Regions from separate parts of the Homo sapiens genome. Here region 2 is linked to region 1. The links are contacts of gene promoters, found by promoter capture Hi-C in blood cells and fetal thymus (Javierre and others, 2016). All regions are on one chromosome and are shown on one strand. The core of a region is centred on a gene start or on the middle of the fragment in contact, and the rest is flanking DNA. Distances in the headings are between cores, read along the strand shown.

Region 1 (4,569 bases), core at 332-2,831:
CTCTCAAAGTGCTGGAATTAGAGGCGTGAGCCACCACGCCTGGCCAAGGATCTCTTACTTCTTGAAATTTTCTATTGGCTTCTACAGCTTCATTTATTTATCTACTTCAGGGTCACAAAGCTCTGGCTGTTTTTTTCTTGACCTTTTATAGCCTTCTTCTCTGCCTGCTCCTCAAATACTGTGTATTTCTGGCCTTGTTAGACTTGTTTCTATCTTAACACATTTTCCCTGAGTGTTCTCATCTACTTCTAAGGTTTAATTTACCACGTACTGTATATCTCGAGAGCTCTCATATGATTATTTGGGCTCAATTTTTCTCCTATGTCAGTAATTTTTTCTCCTAGACTAGTACAGATATCTTTATTGGAATTCCTTTTCACAGGTATTTTTAACTTAATATGGCATTCAATGCAAAACTCATCTTTTTAAAAAATTCGGTCCAACTTTTATACTTTCATCTTAATTAACAGTACCACTCGTGCTGAAGCCAGAAACCTAAGACTTTTCTTAGAACTAACTCTCTCCCTCATCCTTCTCAGGGCATAAGCCACTAAATCCTAACTTGTTTCTCAAAATGTTTTGTGAGTCAGAACTATGCCTATCACCATTTCTTCTTTGGATTGTTTCAACTGCCTCCTCCCTGGCCTGTCAGCCACCAGCGTTTCTGGAGAATACTCCAATTTATCCTCAGCGCATGCCACCATTAACTTTTCTTTACAAAGACGTGAATTCTCTGCTTAAAAACATTTGCTAACTTTCCATGGTCTATAAAAAATAAATCCAAATTCTTTGTCTTGCAAGGTTCTTAACTATTTTTCTGGCTTCATGTTTCTATGACATCATCTCCCACCTATTCTATACTTAGGCCATACTGAATTTCCCAATTTAGTACCTTTACCCACGTATAGGTCTGAGATTCTGAGTCCTAAGTCTGCTATTAACAAGCACTGCCCTGATACTACTGCAAATGGGTCTCCACACCACACTTTGAGAAACACCGCTGTGGAGCCCATCACAGGGACAGTGCCTTATTTATCCTTGCTGAGCTAATGAGCTCTTGCCCGAGTCCACAACTAATAAGCATGTAAAAGGCGGCAGAGCGCCGTGGCAAAGGAGCACAAGAGAGCCCACAGGAGAGGATGGGATCACAGCACGTAATGATGTCCTGACCTCTGATCCAAAATAAAAACGGCTGCAAGTGAGTAAAGAGTTTCAAACTCGGGTAGTGTGGGCAGTGGAAAAGTCAAACGAAGAGTCAAGAATGTGCTCTGACGCCTCTCCCCCGGGCCCGACCCTTACCGTGCAGCAAGTGCTCAGTCTCCCGCAGCTCCCGCTCCTTCTCGTTCAGCAGTTTGATCACCGCCAGCAACTCGGGCCTCCTGACCTTCAAATGGGCTTCAGACCCCGCCTGGCGCTCGAGGAAGGTCCGCAAGGGCCCGCCCCGGGTGAACAGCTCCTCCAGCGGCGGGCTACCGGAGCTCAGGGGCCGGCGGGCTGGGCCAACGGCCCGGCGGGGCCAGAGCCACCGGGCAGCGCCCCACAGAACCCGGGACCGCATCCTTAGTCCGAGATCGCGGACCCTGACCGGAACCGGAAGTTCCGGACACAGCAGCCCTCGCGACAACACCCAGAATTTGGAGATAAGGGTGAGAGCGCACCAAGCCCCGCCCAGCGCAAGCGTTGCTTTTTAAAGGATTTTCCGGAAGCCTTGGCGGGAACTTCCTGCCAAGCGTGAGAACGCTGCGAACTTCCCGGAGGCCAAAAGTTGAGGGGGCTGAGCGGAGCGTGATTGGGGAGGGGCGGGCCTGGGAGACCTTGGGCGCCTCCTCTGAAAGCCTCTTGGTAGGTATCCGGTTGATGGGTGACGTGTTTGGCCGGAAAGGGAGAGCAGCAGATTGCCCCTCTGTTTTCTGATAGTGAGGATTTCTTTCCCATGCACTGAGTCGGGGCCTCCAGAGCCGCAGTGCAGGGCAGTCGAGGGTCCGCTGCAGGGCGGAGGTCACAGCCGCGCAAGTCGTCAGTCTCCGGTGCAGGGCTGCCGCTGAGTCTTCAAGAGCGAGTTTTATTATGGACAGGCGTGTGTTTATTCCTCCTCCTTTTTTCCTGCTTATGTTTCTCTTGTCCACGGTGGGTGAGGTTCGTGGTAATAAGGACTTGATAAGTGTATTATGAGATAACCACTGAATGAATTTGCACAATAGACGTGCGTGCCCTTCATCTGCCGCGTCATTTACTTGCTTTCAAAGGACTTTATTATTCACCTGCCCATTCATTTTCACTTAGTCCCACTTATCGTCAGCTTTTTAAAGAGGTGGAGTGATTCCGTGTTACAGCAACCTACAGCCCAACAAAGCCTTCAGATATCTGCCTCCAGGAGTCCAACCCTCATCCCTTTCCAAAGAACTGGTAGCGGATAGGTGCCAGCAATACCGACATTTATTGGCACAATGCTTTGCACTTTTCAAAAGACCTGTTCACAGCTCAACGGAGAAATAAATATGAGGGAATAAACACAACCAAGACAGTCCTGGGAATGCAAGGGCTAAACGCTCAATCTGAGAACTGCCACTACCTAACTGGTTTGGGCAGCGTCTACTAAGTGGTATTTCACTGTTGAGAGAGGTGATATATTAGAAGTACGAAACTTCTAATTTATTCATAAAAAATAAAATGGTAAAAAATGGGAACCCTTATCAAGGTTAAAATATCCTTAGGTCATCTAATCGAAACTGTTAAGTATAAACATTCTTAGAAAATAACGTTTGCATTGCCTCTCTCTTTTCATCTCTTAGCACGATAACAAATGCAGAGTGAGTGGAAGAATGAAATGACTCTTCAAACATCAGGAAGCAAAAATAGTTTTTTGCTACTTAAAGGCTCCACCTAATTATCTCAGTTCTTTTCACTTTGTGTATTCAAGCTACACAACTTTATACAATCGTTCTGCTGTTGAAACCCATTTTATTTTAATCCTGATCTGAGGATAGAACAGGACTGATCAGGATGTTTTTATCTCTATTAGAACAATTGTTTCCCAAGTCTGAACTTAACTTTGAATTTATCTTAACCATGGAAATGGTGAGAATCACTTGAACTCAACATGGTATATCTCTCAGTTGAGTTCTCAGAACATAAGTCATTTCAACAATATATTTTATTATTTATAAAAGGTGAAACATTTTAATAATTAAAACCTTATAGAACAATGTAAAGAATCTAGCCAGAATTTTATTTTCCCCCAAGTGCATAAGCAATTTAAGTAACACATAGAAGTGTACCTTTTATTCCTATAGTGTTATATACCAATGAGGAAACAGTAACTTTCTAAGGATACATTGTTGAATTCTTTATTAATTCAAAACATTTTAAGAAAGTCAGTGTAATGCATATGCATTTTACAATAACATCCATAGGTTTCCACAATCTAGTAAAATGAAAACAGCTGTATTTTGATTTACTTTGAAAACTCAAACCTATAGTTCGAGACTTCTGAATATTTTTACATTACTGTCATGCTCAAATTCTGTTACATGGTGAAAATTCTAGCATTTTCCAGAAGTATATTATTGTACATAGGTAAAATGATAAAATTGATTCTAGGAAGGGGGAAAAAAAAACCCAGAAAAACTTAAATTGGAGGAAACATAATCTGGATTATCTATTCAATTTGTGAATACCCACCGTTATTCTGGCATTGCAAAATAACCAAGTGTGGTGCCTCTTAAGTTGCATTCATGCATTCAAAACTTCTTTATTGTCCACTGATAAATATTGGTGGAGTACAATATATGGATATAGATTAAGTGTGATGAACATGGTAGTAAAAAATTATACACATTCGATATGTAATTTTACAAAACCAAACACATTGAATTCTTTTTAATATTTAGCAAACATTTAAAAATCATATACAAGAAAGGTGTTTATGACAAATCGGTTAAAGCTAGCGGGAAATAGGTCTTTTACATTATTTCAATATTCAGTGTTCATTGATTAGTGGAGGGCAATATAAAAATGCAATAAGCAAAATGGTTAGTTTAAATTTAAATTACCTCTTATGACAATTAGTAAGATAAGATCTTTAATATCCAAAGTATGTGGAGGATTATTGTAAATTGCGCAGACAGTTCAAGGGAAAAATTCACTTTCACCTCTATTAGGTGAATATTCAGGCTAAGACTTCTGGAGTTTTATTTTTCCACTTCACTGTATTTTCTTTATAGCATTTATTAGTAATCACTTAGTGGAACCTAATATTAGTGTTTAGAATTTGTTTAGCTCAGTGTAAATGTCCAGAAAATTTACCTTCAATATAATCTCTTTAAAAACGCATTACTTTACAGTGGAGAAATATAATAGATGCTACCTCAGCTAAGTGATCAAGGTTAACATCAACAGCTAAGAGTAGCCTAAAGTTTGAGAAACTGTCACAGCTAAGACGAGTCCCGGTGATGGCATATACCTTTGATACCATGTGATGAGCATGGCACTTTACCGTTGTGTTCTTTCAAAAACCAAAAACCTGTGTCTAGTCACGAGAAAAACATCAGACGAATCCCCATAGAAGGA
Region 2 (4,672 bases), core at 917-3,416, 430 kb before region 1:
AGCTGTGGAATAAAAGTTATTCCATGGTATTTGTTCATGGGTGTTGTGTGTGAATGATGTGTGTTGATGTTTTCTGGGTCATTTAGTTTATGAGGGAAGGCAGGAAAAGCCAACAGAGCATACAAAAACAAATCAGCCACAAATTCTGAAAGAGGGAGTTGCCTTTGGTCTAATAAACATTTTAGGAATGTAAACACCTTCTGGGAAGGATTCCTTCTGGGAATGTCTATTTGACATTCACACCTCATTGTCAACTGCTCGAATTAGATAACACCTTGTTGAATATCCTCAGGCAATGAAAAATTAAAGGTAAAGAAAGAGAAAGGAATACTTTTCTAAGGGCGAGGCACTTAGAGGTGGAGACTCCCCTCTGGGCATTACCTACTTGAGGTCTCTATAGAGGAGGCTGATTTTTTTTTAAATTTTATTATTATTATACTTTAAGTTTTAGGGTACATGTGCACAACGTGCAGGTTTGTTACATATGTATACATGTGCCATGTTGGTGTGCTGCACCCATTAACTCGTCATTTAGCATTAGGTATATCTCCTAATGCTATCCCCCCCCCTCCCCCCACCCCACAACAGGCCCTGGTGTGTTATGGTCCCCTTCCTGTGTCCATGTGTTCTCATTGTTCAATTCCCACCTATGAGTGAGAACATGCGGTGTTTGGTTTTTTGTCCTTGCGGTAGTTTGCTGAGAATGATGGTTTCCAAGGCTGACATTTTTAACTGAAACTGAAGAGAAGTGATGAAAAAGCAGGTTGGATTCCATTGCTCACAACTCTTCTTTCCTCAGATGACCCCAACTTACCATTCTCTAATTTTGAAAACAGGAAAAAATGTTCAAGAAGATTTAGAACCTATCTTCAAGAAATGTCAAGAATGTAATATTGGGACTCTCATAAATCATAACTTTTCTGCCTACATTTTCTGAAGATTTCCCTATAAAAGTCTGTTACCTTGACACTCTAATTCATATGCTCAAGAATTAGGTTAATTATTTTTTAAAACTTTGAAGAAAATGATCAAACTAACAGTAACAATAGCATCTACCCATCCTAAAAGAGTATGCATCATATACAGCAAACTTCTATGACTAAGAAACAAAACAGGTTCATTGTTAGATACAGCATAATAGCATCAAAGCTCTGCTTCACCTGTTGGAAGCACAGAACATATTTTAACTTTACGGGCTGTGGGAGCTGGGGGAAGCAAAAACATTAGAGATGTTCAACCAAGCTCTGAGTCATCTCTTTATGAGTTACAGATTCTTAAAAACAAATTAAATGAAGTCCCCAGCTGTAACTATGATTTGAGCCTCATAACGGGGTGAGAATGGAGAAAATGGGCCAAATCTACAGTTATGGAATATATAATGGGATATACACATATATATGTATATATATACACACATATATATATACACATAAATATATACATATATATATATATATATGGCAGATATAACAAGATAGGCCTTAGAAGTTAATTTGGTGGCAAAAGGAGTAGGTTTAGAGAGGAAATATATATAATATATATTTGTTGTTTTCGTAGATGAGATCTGGAGAGTTGCCTCAGAAACGTGTCTGCACCTCTGCAAAGGCATCCCCAAGCTCAACCCTGTGTAATTACCTCCTCTTTGCTCTTGTTCTTGCCTTTCCTTTCTGCACCTGACAGTTAATTGCTGTAATTGAACAACAAGGACTGGGATGCCCTTCCTCCTCTTGCTCTCACTTCTTTCATGACTCTCTTCAGTCTTTGTTGGTTGATTAAGCTTAAGCAGTCTGGTAATCAATCCAAATCTTATCTCATTAATTGGACTAAATGAAGCTTTGAGGGAAGGAAAGGAGATGAGCATAATAGGTGCTAAGTAAATACCGTAGTTGTTTCTCAACCATGGAAAACCCCACTTGAAGGATATACACTTTATATGTTTGCATGAAAGTATTAAGGTATTTGAAGTAACTAAGGTAATCAAAGTAATTTTCCCCAATGTATAATCTAACTTCTGTTTTTTTCAGGCACACTAACACTTTCAGATCCTTGGGACAGGCACCATTCAGTCAAATCCTTATAGAGCAGGACTCTTGAAACGTCAGTTCACTCTTAGCTGTTTTTGGTTTGTTTTTTGTTTTGTTTGTTTGTTTTTAATTTTGTTTGCTTTTCATTTCTGTGGCTTTAGGTTCTTTAAGCCACCATGGAAGTACTTATTTTAAGAGAATAACCATTGGAATTATGCTTTCTTAAGAAAAATAAATGTGAATGAATGTACCAAACATGAAATGTAAGAACTCTTCCATCTAAGCTATAATCCCATCCCTGAATGACACATGATGGTGGTGGGTACAGTTGATGAGGTTTTCTCTAACTCCGGTGGTATAGGATGGTGGTCTTCAATCTGGGAATGTAATAAATGCCCTAAAGGACTATTTCAAGGAGCAACACCTGATAAAGTTTTTCCTAATGTCATACTGCATTGAGCAGAACAATTCTGAATGAAGCTTTTATTTAGTGGTCTGGGCTGAATTACATGCCTCTAGATTTGTATCTGTCAAAATGTGTTTCATGGACGAATGACATCAGAATGCAATGCTCACTAGAGATGGAGCTTCCTGGGTTCTGCATTAGATGCCCCAAGACTCTCTGAGACAAGGCTTAGAGGTCTGCATTGGAACACACTCCTCATGTCATTCTTATCCGAACTAGAATTCAAAAACCACAGCTTTAGAATCTTAAAATAGTTGTTCAACAATTTATTTATGCAAACTGCTGAAAACATGAAAAAGAGAAGTTATATTGCATTTCACTACAGTTCAGTAATCCAATAGGCTGTTGTTCCATTTTAAGATTGTGGAGTCAACATAAATAAACATGATCTTTGCAGTCAGAACAGCCTAGATTTGCCACAACTTACTAGCTATGCAACCTTGAACAAGTTTCTCAGCCTATCAGAACATCAGTTTCATCATCACTGTAATGAGGAAACTATTAACAGCTACCTCACAGGGTTGCTTGAAAGCTAAATGAACAATGTATATGCAAAACACATAGCACAGTGCCTGGAATGTAATAGGCATTTAATGCATGCTACATTATTACTTTCTATCTTAGCAACTTGAGGTGACTGTAATCTCTTTTAAAATATTCAGTGTAAACAAACTTTCTCTTATAATTCTTGCAGCATTATTAGTAATGTTCTGGGAAACGGCTATTGCATAATCTGCCAAATAAGAACAAAGTGGACCTCGGCTAATCAGCAAACGTGCCTGTGCATGTCTTTCTGGTAGCAATTCAGTCAGCTATTAAATTGTTCCTGCTGTGTTTTTTCAAAAAAATAAGTACCAACCCATCTTTCTTTGCTAATGTTAACTCTAATCTGCGTTAGCTGCTTGCTTTTGCAGTTATTGGTATGCATTCACATTCTGTATCTATAGGATATAAATAAAATCAATAGAACTTGCTTTGCGTGAGCCAGTGTTCAAGGTCCAACTACAGATTGGGAATAAGGAATTACTAGGCATTTACAGCAGAAATACTAGCACATAGCACAGTCTTGGTTTTTGAGTCCTACTATGCAGTTTACAACACTCCCATGTATTTAGACAGTGTTAGGTTTTTCTTCCAATCACTCAGTTTCCAAGAGTACATTATACTCAAATTTCTTGATGACAAATCCTATGCAATTTGGTGTGTTTTCCTTTCTAAACCTACTCCTTTTGCCACCAGATTAACTTCTAAGGCCTACCTTGTTAGATCTGTCAGAGGTAAGTAACTAAATAATTAACTACTAGGGGATGCAGGCTACCCCAAAAAGACACAGGTATTTTCCAAGTGACACAGGGGCACACAGAACAAAGGCTTTCAAAACCTTGTCATATTTTCAGTCACAGCAGGTATAAGGACAGATAGCCAGATTCTTGACCTTCCTATTCAAATTAGCTACAGGAAGTGGGGAAATTATTTTACACTCCTCTAAATCTGGCTGTCAAGAATTAGTGGAAAAATCCAACTTTGAATTTGTGCTTCCCTGAGTGTAATCACATTTAGTCCGATTAGATTAAAGAAGAGTAGATCACCCTCAAAGCAAACAGGAAATGGAGACACAATTTGACTTCATGATTGAGCACTAACAAAAGATATATGGAAAATAGATTGGGGTCTAAAGCAAATAGCATTTTTAGTAATTTAAAAATAACTTGAGAGACACATACACATATAAAATGCCAGCTTTTATTGTCAGACAATCAAAATTGTTCATATGTTAAGAAGGCATTTTTTTGTCATTTCTTTAAATTAATTTGAGCTTCAGATAGGAAGGCTACAATCACTGCAGCTAATAAAGTGTTTTTGTTCTTGACAAAGAATAAAACTTGCTGTTGCAAGTGGCTCAACGATAGAAAGAATCTTATTAGAAGTATAATTAATGCAGGGCTTTAAAGAAGTCACATTGCTAACCTAGGGTGCATGGTTTTAGGCAGAAATGTGAACACAATTGCCACTTTGCAAGAACTCACCAAGATCCATGAAAACAATTGAGTCTAAGAAATGACATCGTTACTGCATTTTAAATCATAAAAATATTCTTGCCTGGGCGCGGTGGCTCGCACCTGTAATCCCAGCACTTGGGGAGGCCGAGGCGGGTGGATCACAAGGTCAGGAGATTGAGACC

What was found. The method cuts DNA at HindIII sites, captures the fragments that hold promoters and counts their contacts. A CHiCAGO score of 5 or more calls a contact.
Region 2: a contact is called between a fragment that was not itself captured here and the fragment with the promoter of MTRF1L in region 1, in 1 of 17 cell types (neutrophils). The highest score is 7.7, in neutrophils.

What each region holds. Positions count from the first base shown.
Region 1 is chr6:153,001,128-153,005,696 of GRCh38, forward strand. It overlaps MTRF1L (mitochondrial translation release factor 1 like), which reads right to left and starts at 1,582. Exons shown (of 7, transcript NM_019041.7): 1 at 1,300-1,582. The coding sequence starts at 1,558. It overlaps RGS17 (regulator of G protein signaling 17), which reads right to left. Exons shown (of 5, transcript NM_012419.5): 5 at 3,332-4,569. RefSeq lists silencers at 1,330-1,389, 1,400-1,509 and enhancers at 1,739-2,739, 1,830-1,939. The HindIII fragment of the contact is 13,608 bases long and covers 1-4,569 here.
Region 2 is chr6:152,572,763-152,577,434 of GRCh38, forward strand. All of the region lies in intron 3 of SYNE1 (spectrin repeat containing nuclear envelope protein 1), which reads right to left. Among named protein-coding and RNA genes, the nearest start is that of SYNE1, 62 kb to the right of the region's middle. RefSeq lists an enhancer at 1-505. The HindIII fragment of the contact is 671 bases long and covers 1,832-2,502 here.